2 separate regions of the Homo sapiens genome follow, and region 2 is linked to region 1. The links are contacts of gene promoters, found by promoter capture Hi-C in blood cells and fetal thymus (Javierre and others, 2016). All regions are on one chromosome and are shown on one strand. Each heading gives the region's core, a stretch centred on a gene start or on the middle of the fragment in contact. The rest is flanking DNA. Distances are from core to core; before and after follow the strand shown. Region 1 holds the start of BUB1B (BUB1 mitotic checkpoint serine/threonine kinase B). Region 2 has its middle 4.6 kb from the start of BAHD1.

Evidence for each region. Contacts are between HindIII fragments. The CHiCAGO score rates a contact against its expected background, and 5 or more counts as called.
Region 2: a fragment that was not itself captured here is called in contact with the fragment with the promoter of BUB1B in region 1 in 1 of 17 cell types (fetal thymus); the score reaches 5.5 in fetal thymus.

Annotation. Positions count from the first base shown.
Region 1 is chr15:40,159,080-40,165,824 of GRCh38, forward strand. BUB1B (BUB1 mitotic checkpoint serine/threonine kinase B) reads left to right here and starts at 1,990. Exons shown (of 23, transcript NM_001211.6): 1 at 1,990-2,176; 2 at 5,974-6,117. The coding sequence starts at 2,142. RefSeq lists enhancers at 2,124-2,223, 2,244-2,373, 2,381-3,145. The HindIII fragment of the contact is 2,113 bases long and covers 786-2,898 here.
Region 2 is chr15:40,432,853-40,439,801 of GRCh38, forward strand. It overlaps a transcript of IVD not described here and a transcript of BAHD1 not described here. Among named protein-coding and RNA genes, the nearest start is that of BAHD1, 4.6 kb to the right of the region's middle. RefSeq lists enhancers at 3,579-4,117, 4,118-4,655, 6,807-6,949. The HindIII fragment of the contact is 4,775 bases long and covers 2,805-6,949 here.

The DNA of each region.
Region 1 (6,745 bases), core at 740-3,239:
CACTCACTCCAGTTCCCCCAAGTCCACAGACAAACCCTGCTGCTTTCAGCATTCCTCTTCCTCAAAGGCAAACCTTGCTTGCTGGGAGCTCCACCCATCAGTTCATGGGACATCCCTAAAAACTCATTTTCCAAATTAAACCACAGAGTACCTTCTGTCATACATTTTGGAGTTTTGTTTTACCTACCTCCTTCTTTTCCCGTAGTGAAACAAGCAAGGGGTTTAGCCTGAATGCATTCTACATCGTAGCAGAGTTTATGGGGAATCCGACTAGGTTATAGGAAAGACTGAGATCAAAAGACCAAACACTACGTTTCCAAGATTGTTTGTAGGAAATAGTCAAAATTGAGAAGCTGTAGATATGAACAGGACACCCTGTTGAAAGAAAATGAAGTGCTAGGCCAGTACTGACATAAGGTAAGAGATAAAATGAGCCAGTGAGAGAATCCCACGCACCACACCTCATATGATCCAGGAAAGCTTCCTGGATGTGGAGGACTTTGATGTAAAGAGTAACCAAAATTTCCTATGAGGAATCACCCCTTCCCCTCTCTCAGTCCCAAGGTGAAACACATGACTTGGTTCTGAACAATCAAAGCCCTGAATCCACTATCCCCAGTGACTGTTTGGGAGGAAGGGGTTAAGCAGGGTGACTCCTAAGTCTGAATTTGAACCTGTAAGGATAAAGTCGTGAATCTGTTACCCAATGGAGAATGACAATAAGCCAACAACAAGAGTAGAGGCGAGAAATGGAGAGAGGCCCAGTCCACATGAGTCCTGGGTTAAGCTTTATCTGAAGTCTTTTATATATAAAAGACAGTAAATTCCCTTTTCTGAGTAGGCCGATTTAAGTTGGATTTCTACTTCTTTGGAATCAAGAGTCCTGATGATTCAGAGGAAAGAAGGACTTATATAACATGAACAAAGACAGAAAGCTGGGAACTAAGAACCAGAGGGTAGTGGACAGTATCCTCAGCATCTGCCTCTGGGAAGTGCCACCTCTCTGACCATCCCCACAGTCATAAAGGAGAACTCCCCTGTACCTGGGCTTTCTTAAATGACCCTGTTCCTTCCTCAAGGTGGCTAATGCCTGTAATCGCAGCTACTGCGGAGGCTGAGGTGGGAGGATCACTTGACCCCGGGAGTTGGAGGCTGGAATGCAGTAGCCCCATGATGGGGCTACTGCACTCCAGCCTGGGCAACAGAGCAAGAAGAAGACCCTGTCTCTAAAACAAAACCAACCAACCAAACAAACAAAAAGACTCTACTCCCCTGGTCACATCTGAGCTATCACAATTTCTTCCTCAGAAAATTGAAATTGCAACAAACAGTTTAATGTCAGTCAAGGCTAGTCCCCTGAAGGGGAAAAGAGGTAACACCTTGGGAACCATAGCATGGCTGTGTTTACTGCTTGTGGACTGAGCAGAAGAGAAAGCAAGACAGTATCATCACTTTATAGATGAGGAAAACTGATGGTCAGAAAGATTATGTAGCTTGCCTAAGGTTGCACATTTGGTATGATTTTACAGAACTAGAATCCAGCTTTTTGAATTCAAGGGTGGGGCAGGAAACAGCTAGGTCAGTGGCCTAAGAACTCCGGACGGGTGAGATTTGGGGCAGACAGCAGGGGTAGTCACCCTACAAGAGTCACGCCAAGTGCAAGCACTCAGAGACATCTCCCAACACTCAAAACAGCAAAGAAGTTCTGGTGCTTTAAGTGTTCCTCGCTCGGCTCAGAGACTCGGCTTCGAGCCGCGACTCAAGACAGCACCTGGGGGTATTTGTTTTGCCTAAGCCTGCTGCACTTCCACGGCCATTGAATCCCAAAAACTACAATTCCCATTATGCACCGCGAGTTCGCGGACTAAACAGGCATAAACTACAAGCCCCAGAATGCCTTGGGCGAGACGCGAGAGCACGGAGGAGCGGAGGGGCGTGGCCACGTCGACCGCGCGGGACCGTTAAATTTGAAACTTGGCGGCTAGGGGTGTGGGCTTGAGGTGGCCGGTTTGTTAGGGAGTCGTGTACGTGCCTTGGTCGCTTCTGTAGCTCCGAGGGCAGGTTGCGGAAGAAAGCCCAGGCGGTCTGTGGCCCAGAGGAAAGGCCTGCAGCAGGACGAGGACCTGAGCCAGGAATGCAGGATGGCGGCGGTGAAGAAGGAAGGGGGTGCTCTGAGGTAGGTACGGGAGAAAGCTGCTGGGGGCTGGGCCTGAGAGGACACGGCCTGGTAGGTAATAGAAGGCTCCGCTCGGAGCAGTCGAGGGGGAGATCGGCACCGTCAGAACAGACCCCACCGGAGCCTCCTTCCTTTTGGAGTAGAATGCCGGAGGTGGAGGTGAAAACGCAGTGGACTGAGGGCACGTGCGAATCCTGCCGCATCCAGCTTCAAAGCGAAGAAGGCTGCGGGACCCCAGCGGAACAAAGAGTTTGGAAGTTGCAATGTTGTCTGTTTGTAACTCAGCTCAGCCACCTGCTAGTTGTTTGACCTTGGGCAAATCGTTTGTATGGAAAATGCTGATGTTAATGCTGCCTTACGTGGTTCTGGGGGAATTCAAAGTATTTGTTAAGTAACTGCTTCCAAATAAGCGCTCAACAAATGGCAGGTGCTATGCCAATAGCACAGAGATCTGAAAGCCTTTAGCCAATATCATAGAGATCTAAATTATGCCAATAACATAGAGATCTAAAAGCCTTTTTCTGCATGTTTGCGGCTTTTCCTTGTATTAAAAAAACTATATTGCAGTTCTAGGTTGGAAATCTGTATGTGTTTTCACTGTGGTGCCCGCAATACCTAGATAAGTGCTATGTCATGGGCTCTTTCATTCATGTAACAAGTATTTTTTTGGCTAAGCTCTGAGTGCAGCAAATATACAGACACAAAAATCTCAACCCTCATGAAGCTTAAGTTCTGGCATGGGATGAAGGTGGGGGAGTCAGACAATAAAGACAAACTGTTAGGTGGAGATGTGGTCAGTACTAAAAAAAATAATAAAGCAACTGGGTGTAGTGAATATTGGGGGTGGGGATTGGTGCAATTTAACTTGAACACTGGAGTCTCACTGAGGAGATGTCACTTTGGTCAAGACTTGAAGGAATCTCAAAAGCTAGAGGTTCTATATCTGAGGAGAGTACAAAGGCTGAGGGTGAGAGCTAGGGGAGGAAGTTGCACCTGGCATGTCCAAGGCCATTGTCACTGGAGCAGAATTAACTAGAAGAGTAAAAGGATATTATGTAAAAATGGTGAAGATGCAGATTGTAAGGACTTAGCTTTTACTCTAGTTGTAATCAAAAGTCATTGGAAGGTTTTGAGCAAAGGAAAGACATAATCTGACTTGGGTTTAAATGGGGTCACTTTGGCTGTAGTGTTGAATACACTAAAGGCAGCAAAGGATGGAAGCAAGGGACACCAGTTAAGAGGTTATTGAAATAATTCAGCTCAAAAGTGAGTTGAGCCAGGTGGAAAACAGTGGAGATGATGATAAGTGGTTGATTTCTGTATATATTTTGAAGGTAGAACCAGTAGGACTTGCTGACTGACTGAGGGGTATGAGAAGGGCATCAAAGTTGGCACTAAGATTTTTGGCTTGGGTAACTGAAGAATGGGATTGCCATTTATTTGAGAAAGAGGAAGACTGTGGGAGGAGCAGGTCTGGGAGGAAGTGGGGGCAGTCTTAGCTCAATTTGGGATATTTAACTGAGATAGTGTAATTCACTATTTTTAAGAGCAAGAGAAGAAAGTTCAGATGAATTCAACAAACAGGGCATAATAGTGTTATATCTCGTATTAGATCATGGGCATACAAAAATAAATGGCATAGCCCTTACCTTTACAGAGTTCACACAATATAGAGCAGGTCCTGGTATAACATCGTTTCGTTATAATGTTGATGAGAAAAAAAATCAATTCATTGCGGGGCTGCTGTGTATGTGGAGTTTTCATGTTTTCCGCATGTCTGCATGGGTTTCCTTAGGTACTCCAGTTTCCTTCTACATCCCAAAGATGTGCCTGTTAATTGGCGTGTCTAAATGATCCCAGTCTGAATGGGTGTGAATGTGATGCTCCCTGTGATGGAGTGGTGTCCTGTCCAGGGTTGGTTCCTCTCTGAGTTGCTGAGATGGGCTCTGGCCACCCTCAACCCCGAACTAGAATAAGTGAGTTGGAAAATGAATGAAGGAATGAATACAAATTACTGTAAAATAAAAATCTGTAAAGGCTGGGAGCGGTGGCTCACACCTGTAATCCCAGCACTTCGGGAGGCTGAGGCAACAGGATTGCTTAAGCTCAGCGGTTCAAGACCAGCCTGGGCAACATAGTAAGGCCTGTCTCTATTTAAAAAGTTTATATAAAGTGTGTATGATAATCATATAAATGCATGACAATAAACAATGCCTTATGAAAGTGCCCAGCATGCCCACTATAGTGTTACTATTTGTTTTTTGAACTTTGTGGTGGTAGGAGGTACTTCTTGAAATTTTCACTCTCAAACATTTATTCCTTGAGTTAACCCACCAACACTATGACTGCAGTCATTCACTGATTCGCCAAAAATTGGGTAAATGATTATTTTTTGTTTTCATTAAATGTTCTTAAGTGTACGGATAGCTCACATTTATTTCAATATTTAGTATTAAAAATGTTTGTTTCGAGTCTTTATTCAGAAGTTTGGTGACGTTTTTGTGACCAGAAATATGCCATAGGAACTTAACTTTTGTTTATGTCGATCAGCCTGTGGTAAAATTGGTTTTGTTACATGTCATTTTGATTAAAGTCATAGTTTCCAAGAAGCTGTCTCCAACGAGTTTTCAGTGCTCATCTAGACTGAAGTCACATATAACTTTCACTCTATTTCAAAGATTAGTGCCAATGTGTCTCTCTTTTTGTTTTAAGTCCAGAGGTAATGTCTCTTAGAAATAGTCTTCTATCTAACCATTGCAGGGCTCTGAATTGCAGAATACGTAATGGGAATTACCTCCAAAACGTTTCGGGGGTTTTCTCAGTAGGCTTGCTAGAATTGGGTGTGAGGATGCAGGGAATTGTGACTAGTAAACTGTGTTTGTTTGCTTCTGCTTTTAGCTACTTATATGTACAAACTTCAGTTTTGAATCATCATTGAAACATGGGACATTAGTCTCACCCACACTTTGCTAATTTTAATGTTTTTTTTTTGAGACAGGGTCTTGCTCTGTTGCCCAGGCTGCAGTGCAGTGGTGTGATCATGGCTCACTGCAGCTTCGACCCCTGAACCCAAGCAATGCTCCCACCTCAGTCTTCTAAGTAGCCACGACCATGGGCGTGTACCACCACGCCTGGCTAATTTTTCACTTTTTGTAGAGATGGGGGTCTTCCTATGTTGCCCAGGGTGGTGTTGAACTCCTGGGCTCAAGCACTTCTCCTGACTCAGCCTCCCAAAGTGGTAGGATTACAGGCATGAGCTACCACATCCGGCACTAATTTTAAATTAAACTAGATGATGCATTCAATGGTAGGCATAGAATTACTTGTTGCCTTTTTGTCTACTTTGCCAAATTTATAACACTTTTGTTCCCTTCTTTTCTTTCTGCCTTAAGCCCTATTCATTTTTCTTTTTTTTTTTTTTTTTAAAGAAAGAGGCAGGGTCTTGCTATGTTGCCCAGGCTGGTATCAAACTCCTGGCTCAAGAAATCCTCCCACTTCGGCCTCACAAAGTGGTGGGATTACAGGTGTGAGCCACCGCACATAGCCATGCCCTATTCTTATAGTACTGTCTACGATATCCTTGCCAAGTTGTCTTCTATCAGGCAATACTGTAGCCATAAACTTGAAAAACAGCTAACAAAGAAGCTTAGGCATATAATAATAATAATAATTATGTGTCAGTCCACTATATTCAACCCAAGACCATGAATAATCACCTTTCGGAAGACATTTACAATAATCTAGTGCTATAATAGTCAATGTTGGTATGAGATTTACATTTGTTTCCTTCTTCACAGTGAAGCCATGTCCCTGGAGGGAGATGAATGGGAACTGAGTAAAGAAAATGTACAACCTTTAAGGCAAGGGCGGATCATGTCCACGCTTCAGGGAGCACTGGCACAAGAATCTGCCTGTAACAATACTCTTCAGCAGCAGAAACGGTGTGTAGAATGGCTGAGTCTCAACCTGTCGTCATTCATCCTAAATGTTGTAGATAACGTGGGTGTGGATCCATGAGAGATGGCATAATGAGTACTTTTCAAAAATTGGTAGTATGAGAATCTGTTCTCTACCTGCTTTCGTATCACATGACAGCTATCTGAAGATGTCCTCAGGTATAATTAAGAACAAGGGCTATAGGATTTCATTTCACTGTGGTGCAGCGAAACTCTTTTTATCAATAGAAATACATTTTATACAGGGGGCAGTGATAAGCATAGTAAAGCAAGTATTATATTGCAATGCTTCCCAAAAGTATTATGTTAGGAACTTATTTTTGAGAGTATGACAAAAAAAGAAGTGGTCTCCAAAGACATGTAAACCTCAGAACAATTGAATTTATACCAGAAAGTTCTCAATAATTTTAACAAACTCTGGATAAATAAAAGCTGAAAAATACTCTTATGTTATTCAAATGGACCTGTGGATCTCCTTTAACTAATACATGTTTTGATAAATATGCTTTTTAAAAAAAAAGGTAAATCAGAGTATCAGTTTCTACCTTCAATCTCTGACAAAAAGAAATACTGCCATTACTGGCAAAATATCATAATTTGGGATTATAATGCA
Region 2 (6,949 bases), core at 3,942-6,441, 280 kb after region 1:
AATACAGCCACAGGCACTACATTGTCAGAGCTCCAGATGGGAGACAAGGAGTACAAAACAGAGGTGGAAGACTGATTCCAGTATGGAAGCAGGGCAGGCTTCAGGCATGGCCAGATTTGGGCATGATGAAATAGATTCACAATTGCTAATGTTCTGGGGGCACTTGTGGCTACATCAGGTACTATTCTAAGTACTTTATATGTTTTAAGACACTGTAGCGCCAGGACTGTACTCAGAAAGTCTGCATTCTTAACCACTACGCTATGTGAAATGTAGAAAGAAGAAAGCTTTTAGACATATAAAGGGTTAGACCTCTATTTTATATGTTAAATGCCGTATGAAAAAAAAAGCAAAGGTTTTGGAGCCACTCCAAGCCTATGTGATCTTGGGCAGTTACTTAGATTCTCCAGGTCTCAGTTTCCTCATTTGTTTGTAAATTTGAGAGTACATTTACCTACCAGAGTTCTTGAGGGTTAAATAAAGAAACGTATGTTGAGTGCCTGTTCATGCCTTCTGTAAGAGACACCTGCCCCCTCTGGACCTCCTGCCGGCTTTGGAGGCTCTCAATACACTGCCCATTCCAGATCTGGATTTCTTCATCTTCCCAGGGGTCTGTACGTCTGGAATAAAGGAACCAACATAGTGGATGCACCCCTGGTCTTCCAGTCCACAGCACTGGGAGTTCCTCAGGGGAGAAGTCATACTCCAAGTTGATATCTGAGCGGACAAGTGTTCTGGTAACAGTAAAGGAGGTGACCCTGGAAGCTGAGGTCCCAAGCAACCCAAACCTAGATCATCACAGAAATGTCATGTTTCTTGGAATAATTCTCCCCTCTCTGTGTATTTATCCATTCAGTTTCTATTTACCAATTGTTTACTATTCAGTTCACCAAGCATTATTAGGCAACTACTATTTGCCAGGTATCATGCCATGTTCTCAGGAGTCACCTAGAAGAGCCCACAAACTCTGGACCATGTTTAATTTCCCTTTTCGTCTCCAGCCTGGGTCCATGGATCTTGGAGTGTGTTCAGTAAACATCTGCTCCTGGGGCAATAATGAAGGTACTATTAGAGATTGGCATGAGAATGCAACAGGGCTCTCTGAGTAGGTTCCAGTGAACTAGACACTGCAAAGGGCTGCACCACGATACCCATCCATGTCTCTGTGGCCACAGTGCAGGGCAAGGATCACACACCTGAAAACCTTCAGGGTTCAGGTCCCGTAAATGCCCCACATGGGCAAGGTGGGAGTATGGTAAACTGGAGCATGCCTACCCCATACAGACTGCATTTGCTACTTAGTACCAACCTACTGTTGCAAGTGAAAATGTGCGCCAGGGGTAGCAAATCTTCTGATTTTTTTCAAGAGAAACTGTAAACCTGGATTTTTATTTTGAATCTCCAAAAATTTCAGCATTGGCCCCTAATTTTAATCTTTTTTGAAAGCCCCATAGACAGTTAAATGGAACTTGTCTGCCTGCTTACTTTTGCTCAAAGGCTATTAGTTTGGGAGCCCTAAGTGTGCCTGTGAAAGGGGAGAGGTAGAGGGCTGTATGTCCTGGGGCCAGGTTATGAGAGACCTAGAATGCCATCCTTCCTTGGGGCCAGGACTGTGCTAGACACACAGGAAGCCATAAAGAGGATGTTAAAGCCATAGGCCTGCCCTCCAGGGGTTTATAATCTTATAAATAAAGACTTACGGGCAAAGCAGCAGATGGTCAGGAATGTGTGAGGAGGAGACAACTTGGAGTGCATAGAGTTCAGGGCAGCAGGGAGCAAGGTGGAATTGAGCTTCAGGAGAGTTTCACCTGAGCTTCGGGAGACCTTTCCAGGAAGTCAGGCTTGGACTGTGAGTATGAGGATTCTGGAGGACTCTGGGAGATCCATAAACAAATATGAATGGGCACGACCTATGCTGGAGACCCCAAAGAAAAGCCCCAGGGAATCTGCTTCCCGGTGTCATGGGAAGAGGCTCACAGGAAAGGGCAGGGCTATAGCATGAGGCTTCACTGACACCCTCACACCCCTTACTATTGAACCTGGCCATCCCTGGCCTCAGAAGTCCAGTGGGGTCAGCCTCTCCAAGCTTGCAGAAGTCAGTGTTGGGGGCTTGGGCAAGTGGTACAATTCCGGCTAGGGTATAAGCCCTGCCTGTGTGGCTCAGGCCAGGCATTAATGGCCCTAAGCCTCAATTTCCTAATTTGTGAAATGGCGATAGTAATTGCATATACCTACTGAGATTGGGGCGAGAATGAGAAACCAATATAGGATGTCGTTTGCCCCTGTTCCTATATGGTTTTTATGAGAAATGTGCACCACCTGGGGTGGGGGAAAAAGCACCTGGAGGGTGAAGCGAAGCTCGTCCCCATGTTTGTCTTTCTTGTTGCTGCTCCGGAAATGACACGGATTCTGGGAGGGCTGCCTATCTTAGCGAGTGAGGGAGGAGTGGAGCATGGGGGTCTCTCCATTTCTTCCCCGGGGAAAGAGATGGTAGAGCTCCTGGTTGGCAGGCAGGAGCCGCTGGGGTTGTGGACAGCGCTAAAAGAGGGCTCTCTTTCCCCTAGGGCAGACCTTTTCCGCCCAACACCCACCTGGGAGGGAGGGCGAGACCCGAGGTCAGACGTCCCTGGAGCAGGTGAGCACTGCGAGGGAACTGAGATGCAAGATCCTCCTGCCTGAACTCACACCCCGCGTGCTGCTCCCCCAACTCGCCTCTTGGATCTCAGACCAGAAGCTTCCTTTCCTCAAAATCCTTCTATGTTCTCCAACGTCTTTGGGACAGAGCTCCTTGGCAGGGTTTACAAAGCTTAGGTGGCCCTACCCACTTCTCCAGCCTCATCTGCTGCCTCACCCCTATACCACAGCTCTGCACCTTTGCTGAAACTGGTACTCGGCGCTTGGGGTGTCCTCATCTTTCCCCTACCTATGGCAGCCTGCCCGAAGAGTGCCTGCTCCTTCAGGCTCCGCTCTCGGCTTAGCCCCTTCTTGGAACGTCCCCGCACCTCACCCCAGCCCCTTGCCAGGGGCAGACCCTGGCAGCCTTCCCTCGTCCTCAGCAGCCATTACGTGTTGCTGTCATAAAGTTATCACTCTGTTTTCTGTCTACTTGTCTCTCTAGCCCCAGCCCATCCCAGCCTCCGACTGCAGGCTCCTGGAGAGCAGGAAAGCCTGGCTCCCCGTGGTAACCCTAAGGCAGGCCCTCTGCCTGGGGCGTCCTGGCACCCTACGCGGGCCGGAGAGCCGGGCGGGGGCGCGACGAGGGGGCGCCCAGGCCGCGGGCTCGGAGCCGGGGTTGGGGGTGGGCGAGGGGAGTCCTTCGCCCTTGCGGCGGGCTCCTGCCCAAGCCAGCCCACCCGGCCCAGCTCCCGCTCCCGCTCCCGCTCCGGAGCCGTGCCCACCGGGCCAGGTGATCTCGAACCTTCTCTCTCTCACACCCCAACAACAAACAACCCTCCACGCTCTCCCTCTGGAGAAAGGAGGTGGAGCCTGACCTCAGCCGGAGGCTGCCGCAGCTGCCGGGGGGAGGGCTTGGAGCTCCAGCCCTTGGGGGAGTCTTTCCTCTAGGGAGTGGTAGGGGTGGGGGCCTTGGAGGGCTCCTGAGCGCCGGGGAACCTCTCCCCCCGGCAGCGTCGACCCTCCCCCAGCGAAGGGAGGAGGGGCAGAGGGGGGGTGGCCTCAGTGAGTGCCCACTTCCGACTCTGTCCCTCTCTCAGGCTGCAGTACCCTCGGACACCTCCTCCCCCACTTACACCCACCCCCTCCTTGAACTCTGCAGTCCCAGAGGCAGGGTGAGACTGGGGACCAAGTGAGCCCAAGGGCTAAGATGCGACTCTGCTGGGCTCCCGGGAGCCTGGGGGGTGCCCATCCCCCACCACTTGACGGTAGTCGGGGGTGTGGGCGGGGTGAGAAGGACCCCGGGGACACTCCGATTAGGTCTGGAGACAGCCTGAAATAGGGTGTAGCCCGCAGTTGTTGGGGCTGCGGAGGAGGCGACTGGGGTGAGGGGCAGAGAATGCACCCCAAGAGAAAGGCATAGGGCCCCAAAGAGGGTAGGAGACGGGATTCAGAGAGCGGGAAGGAGAATGCAGAAACAGCTTTTACGGGGAGAGGCAGACTGCAAAGACGTCCCCTGGCCGGCAATCTGGAGGCTAGCGCTGGGCAGATGGGGGTTTTGGACACAGCGCCATGGACATGTGTTCCCCAAAGTCTGAGCGCATGCAGCCCCCTTGTTCCTTCTTGTGCGGAGACTGAGTCCCACACAGTCCCTACCTCACCGGGACCTCCCCACCCCCAAGGCCGGGGCCGTAGTTGCCTTCAGGGGAGGGAGAGGTCCTGTTCCTCACTGGGCACTCAACAGCTGGCTCCTTGGTGGTAGGAGGGTACCTTGCCCCTCCAGCTCAAGAGTCAGGAGGAGCACTTCTACCTCCTCATCCCTAGGGAAGAGGGCCCCCGCAGGTAAAGACCAGACTTCTGCACTAGGATTTGCCTGGGGGGCAAATAATTTCTGGAGATCCCTTTAAGGAGGGGTGTTCCAATCCCTTTAAGAGGGAGTGGGTCACAGCAAAAGGACTATAAAAGTCCAGCTTTCTTTATTCCCCCACCCCCCAGGGGCTTCCTATGATGGGGGAGGGGGCAAGTGCTGCTGCCGCATTTAATTGTTGCCTTGGTGTCCCTCCCCCAAAGAGCTGTGCCCTTCAGTTCGTCCAGTGGGGCTGAGGAGCCGGGTGGCTCAGTAAGTATTGTGGGGACCTAGACTTCAGGTGCTCTGGGGGTTGGGACAGGGGCTGCCCCACTTCCAGGAAAGAAGGTGGGACCTGGGCAGGGGCTGGAGGGAGGAGAAAGTGGTCACTGCCACCACTGCAGGGACTGCACTGCCGTTGGGGTGCCCTGCCTGGTGCCAGGTGGTTGGATCTCAGGCCAGGCGGTCTTCGGGGACTGCAGCGGGCAGTGGCGGGGAGGTGCTGGGGCTGGGCTGGAGATGACCGAGCAGCCAGTCTGTCCCGGCTGTCAGTCTGGTTGTGTGTGGTGGGGGAAGGGTGCGCCGCGTGGTCTCTCTGGCCCTGGATGTTTTACTCTAGGGCATCTCCCTCTGAGGCAGTTAACCCTTCCCGATGGGTCTGGAGGTGTCTGGGGAGAGAGAGCCCCTGCCTGGCAGCAGCCCGGGAAAGACTCCGGAGACCCGATGGACCCATTCCTCTTTCTACACCAAGTGCCAAACCCTTTTTTCAGTGGGAGACCTCTGGGCTGCCAAACATACCAGGGAGAGGAAAGGTGATGGGCCCCAGGCGTTGGCACAGCTGCCCAGTGAAGTGGGGTGGAGGCAGCATTCACTCAGGAAAGGTTACAGGACCGAAGGAAGGAGGAAGAGGTGGAGCCCTTTCCAGCTGTGGAAGGGCTTTGGACTGGGAAAGAAGGAGGCCCAGTTGCAGAGGTCCCTGAAAGTTGGGTGAAGGAGGCTAGGAGAGGCCAAAAGTTCCCTTTGGGGGACAGGCAGGGTGTAGCCCCTGCCTATTCTTTGCTGGCTTGTTTTAACAAGCAATAGGGAGGAAGGGGGGACAGAGGTGGCTCAGTGAGCTGGCACAGGAGGAACACTTAGTGCCTTTAGCCAGCCCGTGTCCCCGCACCATAGCCCACTCAGTCAGAGCCTCCTGGGGCAGCGGACACCGCCACCCACACTGGAGGCTCTGAGGGGAGAACTCCTCCAGCGGCCAGGCAGGCACTTGGTGGGCTGTCATGACTACTCTGCCTCCTCTCCGGTTGGTATTCCTTCCTTTCCCTCCCACTGAGACCCCAGATAAGACAACACTCCCCTGCTCACCCCAGGGCCCTCTAATGCCAACACCAGGAAGACACCCAATCCTGCCACCTCGTCCTGCTGCCATTTCCTCGGCTGAACGTGGGCTTCCTGCCACTTAGGTCTCCTTCCCTGCCACCAGGTACATTCCTCTTCTGGCCCTCCCGGCCTCCATCCCTGCCCATTATCAGGCCTGAAGTGGCTGCCAAGGTCAGCGCCGCCTGGGCTGCAGACAGGAGCCCGGCCTCTCTTCTGTCTTGGCCTGTAGCATGGCTCTGCCCCCGTGGCCACCACTGCTGTACCCTCCACCACCAATCTCTGACGAGTGGGGGCCACCGTGGGGTTAATTTGCCTATGGGCCAGACTGGGACAGGGAGAGGGGGAATTCTGTGAGGTGGGGAGTAGGGCTGGCCTGGTGTGTGTTGGGGGGGCGCTGCCGGGAACCTCTGTCCTGTCCAGGAAGGGGAGAAATCTTTCAGCGTCCTACTTTTACAGCTTTGGGGTTTTGCTTTCCCCAAGGGTGGGAGGTGGGAGAAGTGGCAGTGGGAGAACCTGGACCTTCGAGACATTTCCGTGCCACAGTTTTAGCTTTTAGCTTCCATTCACACACTTTCCCTGCTGAGGGGGCCCCTCCTTTAAGTGTGTCCCCCCAAACAGCTAAGACAGTCTGGGCCCCCTGGACAGCTCTGGAGGCAGATGGGGAACTGCTTCTGGGGGAGGTTGTTTCCCAGCCATATTGGCTAGCAGCCCTGATTGTCTTAAAAGGCTGCCTGGGTGAGCGCTGGAGTCCCAAGGTCTAGGAAAGGCTGGGCGCTGTGTGTGGTGCAGGAGGAGCCCCTCCGAAGCCCCTGGGCCACACTCCAAGGCTGGGTTTTCCTTGCTTGCCTGGGCAGCCTCAGCACTCTGGGTGCCTCTCTCTGCCCAAGGCGTTCCTGGGGCCCAGCCCCTCCCTGGGCTGCTCCAGCGCTCTGGTGACTTGACACTACCCTTTCTGCCGCTGCTCCTTTTACCTCCTAAAGCTCCCCTCCCCCGCCTGAATTGGGAATGAGGCTTTGTTCAGGGGTGAACTCAGCATTTCTCGAGAACCTACTGTGTGCATATCCCGGGCTTAGTGAAGTCCTAGGCGGGCTCTGGCACCACCAGGTGCCCAAGACA